Linked DNA regions of Homo sapiens: region 2 is linked to region 1. The links are contacts of gene promoters, found by promoter capture Hi-C in blood cells and fetal thymus (Javierre and others, 2016). All regions are on one chromosome and are shown on one strand. The core of a region is centred on a gene start or on the middle of the fragment in contact, and the rest is flanking DNA. Distances in the headings are between cores, read along the strand shown.

Region 1 (5,184 bases), core at 908-3,407:
AGAGGATGGTATTACTCCCAGTATCGAAGAAAGTGTACACGCCCCCTGTGATACTGTTCCTTATATCTAAGTTAAAAAAGAATGATATTACCTTCAGTATCGCAGGGGGTGGGGTGTACACTCCGCCTGTGATATTATTTCTAATATCAAGGGGAAGAGAGAATAATGTTACTCCCAACAGCGCAAGGGATGTACACAAATGGTGATATTGTTCCTAATATCCAGGGAAGGAGATGATGATATTACTGGCCATATCGCAGGAAGTGTACACCCTTCTGTAATATTGTTTCTAACATTCAGTGGGGGAGAGAATAAAATTGATCCCAATATCGCAGAAGGTGTACAGACCCCTTTGATAGAGTTTTTAATGTACAGGGAAAAATAATAATATTATGCCCAATGTCGCAGGGGTTGTAACCCCCCCGCCCCCCACTGTATATTCTTCCTAATAGGCAGCATAGTAGAGGTTTATATTACTACCAATATCGCAGAAGGTGCACACACACCTGTGATATACTTCCTAATATCCAGCGGGAAAGAGGCTGCTATTACTTTCAATATCGCAGTGGGTGTACATCCCCCCTGTGGTTTTGCTCCTAATATCCAGGGGGGAAGAGATGATATTACTGACAATATCACAGGGGGTGTACACCTCTTCTGTGATATGGTTCCTGATATAAAGGGGGAAAGTGGATGATATTACTCTTAATAACGTAGGAAGTGTACACCCACCCTGTGATTTTGTCCCTAATAACCTCATGGGGAGAGGTGATATTACTCCCAATATTGCAAGGGGTGGACACCCCACAAGTCATATTGTTTCTTAAATCCAGGAAGGGAAAAGATGGTATTACTACCAATATTCAAAGGATGTACAGAACGCATTTCTTATTGTTCTTAATATCCAGGTCGAAAGGAGATAACATTACTTTTAATATAATAAGGGTGGTACACCCTGCCTGTGATATGATTCCTAAAATCTAGAAGAAGAGAGAATGATATTACTTCCAATAATACACTGGGTGTGCAACCCCCTTTGATATTGTTCCTAATATCTAAAGAAAGAGATGATGATATTACTCCCAATACTGTAGAAGGTATACACCGTCCTGTGATATTGTTCCTAATAACTAGTGGGTGAGGGCATGATATTATTTCAAATATCGCAGTGGCTTTACACCCCTTCCGTGATATTTCTCCTAATTTCCAGGGGGTGGAGTACGAAGTTACTCCCAATATAGTAGTGGGTGTACACCCACGCTGTCACATTTCTACGAATATTCAGGGAAACACAGCACGATAGAACTCCAAGTCTCGCAAAGAGTGTACACCATTTTGTGATATTGTTCCTAATAACCGGAGGTGGATAGGATGCTGTTAGTTTCAATATCGCAGGCTGTGTACACACACACTGTGAAATTGTTTCTAATGTCCAAGAGGGGAGAGAATGCTATTAATTCCCATATAGCAAGAGGGTGAGGCACACCCCGCCATATGGGGAGTAATAGGACCCCCCCTCCCTCCCTGGCTACTACGAGCCACATCGCTGGGGTGTGAGGCACCCTCCTGCCATATGGGGATTAATAGCGTCCCCCTTTCCCCCCCGACTATTACGATCCACATCGCAGGGGAGTGAGGCTTCCCCCGCGATATGAGGAGTAATAGCACCGCCCTCTCCCCCTCAACCCCCCGGCTTTTAGGATCCACATCGCAGGGGGGTGAGGCACCCCCGGCGATATGGAGAGTAATAGCACCCCCCTTCTCCCCCCCCCCCCCCCCCGGCTATTACGATCCACATCGCAGGGGGGGTGAGGCAGTTCCCGTGATATGGGGCGTAATAGTACCCGCTGTGCGTCCTGGTGGCTCCGGACCCGGCCCAAGCGCGGCGGGACCTCCATCCGTAGCCCTCTCCCCCAACGTCGCCCTCCCGGGGTCCTTGTCTAGTCTCAGCAGGCGGCAAACGGACCCCAGGCGTCTGGCGCTCACCCAGGAGACTGCCCAGCGGTTTCTGGAGAGAGCGCTAAGCGGAGACGCCCGCTGGCAAGCAGATCCCGCCTCCTTCCCTGGCCAAGGAGCCGCCCCTCCGGGGTAGCTGTGCGCTGGGCGGCGCTCGGACCCCTTGGCAGCCGCAGGTGCCTCCCCAGCCCAGCCCAGCTCAGTCCAGCGCAGCCCAGCCCAGCCCAGCCCGGCGCTCGCAGCCTCCGCCGCTTCCGGGCAGATAGGTGCCTTTTCTTGCTCCTTGCTCTTGGAGTTCTTCTCTTAGTCCCTGTTCCCTGGATGAAAGCATCGCTCCGAGCCTCATGGGAGGAATGAAGGAAGAATCGAGACTAGGTGAGTGGTGGTCTAGATTTAACGAATAATAACAATAAACCTGCATACTAAGGGTACTGTTGGGAAGCTAGGAAGTGCAAGGAGAAGAGAAGACAAAGGCTGCTGATCAAGATAACTCACAAAACTAAATGCAGGCTAGGGCCAATTCCAGCTATTTTGCACTCCATCCAGGTTCCCCTGCCTGGCACTGACTCATGTGCAGACCCAGACAGACTTCAATAAATATTTGCTGGGTTGAGACAAGTGAGTGGAGGTGTTTCTGCTTGTTCTCCAGCATCTAAACAAGCAAAACCTAGCTGCCTTTGATGATTGCTTCATCTCCACAAGGACTTTTTCCCCCAGGACTTAAAAAATAAAATGTGGTGTATTCACACAACGGACTGCTATGCAGCACTTAAAAAGCTAAAATCAGAGCTGTAGGGATCAGCATGCCTGTACCTAGATTTCAGAAGTATGATGGCAGATAGACACAGCAAGATGCAAAATATATCCACTCTCTCATGCCATTTAGGTGACTTATTTTAAGACACTTGTCATGTTTGTAAAATCATAGAAGGGGGACTGTAAAATGTTTATCACATCCGTGATTGTGGCTGTCTTTGGAAAGTGTGAAAGGGAAATCAATTGGACTTTAGGATTAAGGTGGAAATAATATTTCCCTAAAATGCTTTAAAAATAAAAATGATGATATAAAGATGACCAAATATAAACAATTGTTAACTGAGAGTGTTATTAACTTGGGCATTTTTCATGTTTTTGCCCCCTATTTTTAAAATATTTCTTAAACTAAGAAGTTCTGTTTTTCAAATGCAAACAAAATAAGTTGTGTCTATGCACATTCTGTGACAATGAAACCTAAAATGTTTAATCAAAAGTTGCAACTTTCTTGCATCACCTCCTATGTTTTCCAATCCTAGAAGACCACACCTCTTTATCTAGGGAGGCTTGGTGGTTAGAGAAGCTTACCTGTTGACAACCCCCAAATTACAGGCCAAAGATGAAAGGTTGGTATTAGGGAACTATTTCCCAGTTAATAATCTGATAATCGGCCAGGTCAGGGTAGACTCTGAAAACTCCCTGTGTCCCTGCAAGACAAATTTCTCCTCCTTTTACATTTCATATGCTTTGGATTTTCATTTTCATGGATGGTAGCTGTCCTCTTCACATCTCAAAATGATGCTTAGGTAACACTGCAGACCTAGTGCCTGGAGATCAGGAAGGGCTGGGGGGTTGGTAAAAGAGAGTCCTACAGCTCTACTGGGCTCTTCAGCAGAATGGAAAGGACATGTCTCCATTTTCCTGCGAGAGAAAGGTAGATTTCTTTCTGAATATGAAAAAAAAAATCTAATTTGGTTATCCACATGGGAGAGAAAATGAAAAATAATTTTAAACTGGATTGTGTATGTTAGGTGCAATGAAGAAGATACTAAACGACCACCCAGTGGTTCCATCTGCTTCCCCCTTCCACAGACACACACAAAAATGGTTCCCTGTTTGCATATTATCTTCCCACTAAAAATCACTTGGTCCGTGGTGAACAAAATTGTGTGCACATCAGAATGAAATTCTGAAACATGGAAAATTGCGATAATATTCCTTCCTCTTTCTCTTTCTGATTCGACAACTTGCAAGGTCAGTGCTTGGTATATCTTATGTTGCAGGATGACAGGCTACTTGAGAAAAACCTGAGGTGTGAAGAAAGATATAAGAATGACAGGACTGGGGTGCATTGTGAAAACTACATGTACTCAGGTTTTAAGCACAAAATAAAAGACAATGTAGCCTCTGCCTGCAGTTAACAACTGCAAATCCTTAAAATTAATGTTCTCCCGGCCAGGCACGGTGGCTCAAGCCTGTAATCCCAGCACTTTGGGAGGCCGAGGTGGGTGCATCACAAGGTCAGGAGATCGAGACCATCCTGGCTAACATGGTGAAACCCCATCTCTACTAAAAATACAAAAAAATTAGCCGGGCATGGTGGCGGGTGCCTGTAGTCTCAGCTACTTGGGAGGCTGAGGCAGGAGAATGGCGTGAACCCAGGAGGCAGAGCTTGCAGTGAGCCGAGATGGTGCCACTGCACTCCAGCCTGGGCAACAGAGCAAGACTCCATCTCAAAAAAAAAAAATTAATGTTCTCTTTAGGACCATTCATCTCTTTCTAGTGCCATCAGTGGTTCAGTCCTTACACTATCCCTCATTTGGATTTTAAATGCAATAATAAAGCACAAAGACCACCCCATTTGCTTCTCCCTAACTCACAATAAAACACTCACAATAAAAAGTGCATCCCACTTACTTCTTAACTCCCTTGTCTGCTGGAGTTAAACTCTTTTTGATTTTTTATCCTGGAGAAATGGTTGAGTTCTATCTTCCTGGGTCTCAATAATTCCACTGAGCTTCCATCAGCCACCTGTGACCACCTACCCCTACTCACTCCCTCTCTCATACCATTTAATTGGTTGCTTCCTAATTAATGACTCTCTTTGCTCTCTATTTAATGATTCTTGCTAAAGTCCATAAGGCACTTTGCCAGCAGTTGGTTTTTAGTATGAAAAGTAGCATTTCCTTAATGAGTCTGAGTCTGCCTTCCAAATGAAGGGTTTACTTACATTTTCCTAATGGGAAAACGAGCTTTTCTTCTACACTTCCTTAGGGGTTTCATAAGTTCTTTTTCAATAACTCATCCTTAACACTTTCTCCAATTCTGCCTGTAATCAATATTCCCTTCACATGTAAAGAGCTCAGGAGGAAATCAACTATTTTTTTAAAAATACGCAATAAGGAAATTCTGCTACTCTTAGAAATAGCAGGAGCTAACATTCATTCTTTGCATATCATGTGCTAGGCATTGTGC
Region 2 (4,630 bases), core at 455-2,954, 220 kb after region 1:
CCTATTGATTTTCCTCTTTGCATCTGCCTCACCCACTTTTTCTTTTTCTTTCTTTTTTTTTTTTTTCTGATTCGCGAGTGCTGCGGAGTCAGGCTGCTCCACAGCCACCAGGGGGCGCGAGGGGCTTTTCGGGAGCGGAGGCTGAGTCCCGGGGGTGGGAGCATCAGCTACGCCCTCCCGGCCGCGGGGCCGAGTTGCGGGCGCCGCCGCCCCCAGCCAGCTCCTCGTCGGATCTCCTACCTTCCCCGCCCTAGTTTCAGAATGGAGACGGTTCCCGGCTTCCCTCCCGGCACCCGCTCTCCTCTGCCATGGCGCGGGTCGAATGCGGCGGCCGCGCCTTTGTTCGAGAGGAGGGCTGGGCGCCGCCTCTGCTGCTCGCGGGGTGGTAAACAGCGGCGCAGCCCCTTCAGACGCCGGAGACTGGTCCGACTCTGCAACCTGGCGGGCCTGCTGGGGTCCCCAGACCCGGAACATACACATTAGAAAATGGAAAGCCGTGACTCGCTCTCAGAGGCTGCAAGGGGCACGGTAGCAGTGGACTCAACCATTCCCTGTATTTAAAAAATATCCAAGTAGTATCTTGTTAAAGAAACTCCACTGCCTGACTGAGTCTCAGAATCAAAGAAAGAACATGAATGCTGCTCTGTGAGTAAAAAGTAGAAAACACCTGTGGAGTGGGAAGGCAGTAGCCCAGACACGTTCCTGGTGCGCAGCCATGGATTTGGAGTAGAACTGCTATTGCTCCCCATCAGTAATGAACCACGTGCACTGCTCACAATCCCGAGTTTACTTTAGGCAGGGCTGACAGACGAAGGTTTATATGTTATTACAAGCAAAACCATGGCCCTTCGGCGATGGAATACATTGTCCTTTAGCTACCTGCTAAAATCAAACGGCCAAAGGGAGACATATTTGGAGAGGCCACTGTGGGTGGGGTCTGAGTGGTGGCTGGGGGTGAGGGAGCTCCTCAACTCTCACGACAAATAATTCCAAACATAAAATTTAAGGAACCAAAAAAAGACTTGCTATGCAAAAAAAATTATAAAACCCTTTGAAGACAATTTTCCCACCGCTCCCCAATTGTCAATCTTAATGTTCTATTAAATAGAAATCCTGTATGTCACTAAGCATGACTAAAGCTGTGTTGAATCTTGAATTCACGTTTCCATAAGGCAGCCCACTGATGGCAATTCTAGACATCTTGTCATTAAAGTGAAGACGTGCTTGCGATAAAGAAACTATATAAGGCATCCACAGAAAGAGAATACAGAATACTCCGGCTTGGGCTTTCCATAAACCCGAAACGAACCAGACTGGTCACATAATCCAAGGACACACAAAGCCCCCCTTAAACACTCCCTCTCAAGTGAGTTAATCCAAGCTTCTGGTTATTTATGGTTAATTGGACTGAATGCAGTCTTCGCAAGAAAAGTCCACAGCAGTCTCCACTTTATTTCTGTGATACTCTGCAAAGGAGGATGAATGCCAAGCAAAGATCACCTCCCTATACTCTTGCAAAACACAAGGGGGAATAAAAAGACTGGGCCAAAGGCACGCCCTAAACATTTTGCTTTGTTCTTAAAGCGTAAGTGCTGAGACCACTAGCCAAGAGTTGTGAAATTACAAAGCATTCTGGGGATTGGCATGCAAATGAGCAGGATTATATTTAGAACAGAGTAAAAGGAGAATTAACTACATACTATGGAAACCAGCAGAGCTCTCTCTCTCTGCATCTTTCCTGTAGATTTTACTGCCCCAAACTTGCTGGAAAGGATCTTGCACATTTTTCTCAAGAAAAGCAAAAATATGTAGGGGACATTTACAATCCTAAAAAAAAAATACCGCTGCTGCTGCCTTTTTTTTTAATTTTACAAGTTTCTTTGCCTTTCTTACATCTGAGTTATCTCCTCTGTTACCATCATTATAATCCAGAACACTCTTTACTAAATAGATTTATACCATATTTTTGATCACTTGATTGTGTGTGTGTGTGTGTGTGTGTGTTGTTTCAAATAACAAGACTTGGTTAAGCTTTTTTGAGGTCAGGTTTGCATGCAAGAGGCCATGCTGAATGGCAATTGCAATGTGTTCTTCTGGATCCGGCTGCTGTGACCAGCCAGACACAGAAACACAGCAAATTGATTCAAGCTGTTGCCATCATCAGAAATGTACAACAAACACTATTTTCCTTGTTTCATCCCCTTCAATTATCTTTCACTTTCTTGAACCAAAATAAAGCCTCTAAGATGAATTTGAAGGAAAAAGCCTTCCTTGGCCATAAGAAAGGCAGCCATCAACACAGGATGCCTCTGTGTCTGGCCAAGAGAGAGAAGAATGGAACCAGTATGGATGTTTTCCACAGTAGAATGACTCTGAATGGTTTTCCTTGGATACACAGCAGTGCTTGGCTTTAGGTATCTCAGTAAACTGAAAGAGGGAGAGGAAGATGTAGAAATAGACTTGATTTACAGTCCCAAAGAAACTTAATTTTGGCTACCACACCTGCCACACCACAGATTTCCACACTTAAATCAATGGGTACTCCATTCCAGTTGCTCAGGCGAAAGGTTTGGCACCATCCTTGATTTCTCTCCTTCAATCATGCCCCTACTCTCCACAGACAATCTTTCAGCAAATGCTACTGATTCTATTTTTTTTTTTTTTTTTTTTTTTTTTGAGACAGAGTCTCGCTCTTGTTGCCCAGGCTGGAGTGCAGTGGGGTGATCTCGGCTCACAGCAACCTCCGCCTCCCAGGTTTAAGCAATTCTCCCGCCTCATCCTCCTGAGTAGCTGGCATTACAGGTGTCTGCCACCACACCTGGCTAATTTTTGTACTTTTAGTAGAGAGGGGGTTTCACCATGTTGGCCATGCTGGTCTCGAACTCCTGACCTCATGTGATCTGCTTGCCTCAGCCTCCCAAAGTGCTGGGATTACAGGCATGAACCACCGCACCCAGCCAGTTCTATCTTTTAAATGTATCCAGACTATGGTCTCCTCTCATGATTTGCAAAGTTTCTTCCTGTGTTTAGCCATCATTTGGCTATCACCTGAATTATTGTAACCTCCTAACTGGGTTCTCTTCCTCACCATCACTCATTCATTCATTCATTCATTCATTCATTCTCAAAATATTCACACAATATTTACCTTGTGCTTACTATGTGCCATTATTTTTATCAGTGTTAGTGCAATGGAGGTGAATAATAAGTCCCAAATATCATGGAGTTTACTTCGTATTCTTCTTATTATATAATAATAACGCATATCCTTATTACACCACCTGTCACTTGCTAGCCCCCTTTCCTGCTTTATCTTCATAATACTTTTTACCACATGACATATTAATTTATTATTGAATATTCTCCCCATCACCAGAATATAAGCTATTTGAGGGTATGTGATGTGTCTGTTTATTTACTGAATGCCTGAAATAGAGCCTTGTCCATAGAAATTGCTCAATAATTATTAGGGGAGTGAATGTAAGAATTTTTTAAAATTGCATCTGGAGAAAGATTAAATAGGTGAAGAAGAACTTTTCTGGAACTAAAGGGCATGTAGTTAGAATGTAGATTTTACAGTATCTATATTTGCTTCTCTATGCATTTTTAGAGTTTCCTGATTCTAGATTTCAGAGCAGATGAATTAAGATGGCGAAGAATCACTTTGCTAATATGATACAGTCCAAAAATTTCAGAGCAACATATGGGCCAAAGAAAGGCTCAGTAGAGTAGAATTGGTACCTGGGCACTGATTAGTTTTATGCCAATGAGGCTGATTCAGTCAGGAGAGGAAACTTTATGAGGCAGGAGAGAAGTAGGTCAATGGCTCTATGAAAGTTCCAGAATAGGCAACTCAGGTGACATTTATTGTTTGAGTGGAGGGCTTGCCCTTAGCTAGAAACAAGACTGGTTCCTCCACAGTCACTGAAGAGGAGAATATCTTTGCACAGAGTCCAGTAGCTGGGTATATTTCCGGGAAGGACTTCATGGAATTTGTCTTCTGACTCCATCTATTTTTTCTGCCATCAGCTAAGACCATCTAGGAAAGAAGGTATTGGGAGAGGGAGGAGGAGTTCATATGAAAATCATTTTCCAGGACAGTAAAGGAACTAGGAAAATATGGTATGATTATCTGGCAGTGTCAGAGGCGTGTTAACCAGAGCAACTCCATCTTGAATAGGAGCTGTGTAAAATGAGGCCGAGACCTGAGACCTACTGGGCTGCATTCCCAGATGGTTAAGGCATTCTAAGTCACAGGATGAGAGAGGAGGTCGGCACAAGATACAGGTCATAAAGACCTTCCTGATAAAACAGGTTGCACTAAAGAAGCTGGCTAAATCCCACCAAAACCAAGATGGCGACAAGAGTGACCTTTGGTCGTCCTCACTGCTACACTCCCACCAGCGCCATGACAGTTTACAAATACCATGGCAACGTCGGAAGTTACCCTAGATGGTCTAAAAAGGGGAGGCATGAATAATCCACCCCTTGTTTAGCATATCATCAAGAAAGAATCATAAAAACAGGCAACCAGCAGATCCTCGGGGCTGCTCTGTTTATGGAGCAGCCATTCTTTTGTTCCTTTACTTTCTTAATACACTTGCTTTCATTACTCTATGGACTCACCCTG

The links. Contacts are between HindIII fragments. The CHiCAGO score rates a contact against its expected background, and 5 or more counts as called.
Region 2: a fragment that was not itself captured here is called in contact with the fragment with the promoter of STK32A in region 1 in 2 of 17 cell types (M1 macrophages and M0 macrophages); the score reaches 5.9 in M1 macrophages.

The regions. Positions count from the first base shown.
Region 1 is chr5:147,232,869-147,238,052 of GRCh38, forward strand. STK32A (serine/threonine kinase 32A) reads left to right here and starts at 2,158. Exons shown (of 13, transcript NM_001112724.2): 1 at 2,158-2,331. It overlaps STK32A-AS1 (STK32A antisense RNA 1), which reads right to left and starts at 1,991. Exons shown (of 4, transcript NR_147190.1): 1 at 1,845-1,991. The HindIII fragment of the contact is 14,744 bases long and covers 1-3,290 here.
Region 2 is chr5:147,453,932-147,458,561 of GRCh38, forward strand. The region is part of intron 1 of DPYSL3 (dihydropyrimidinase like 3); the gene reads right to left. Among named protein-coding and RNA genes, the nearest start is that of DPYSL3, 54 kb to the right of the region's middle. RefSeq lists a silencer at 158-297 and an enhancer at 2,016-2,517. The HindIII fragment of the contact is 650 bases long and covers 1,380-2,029 here.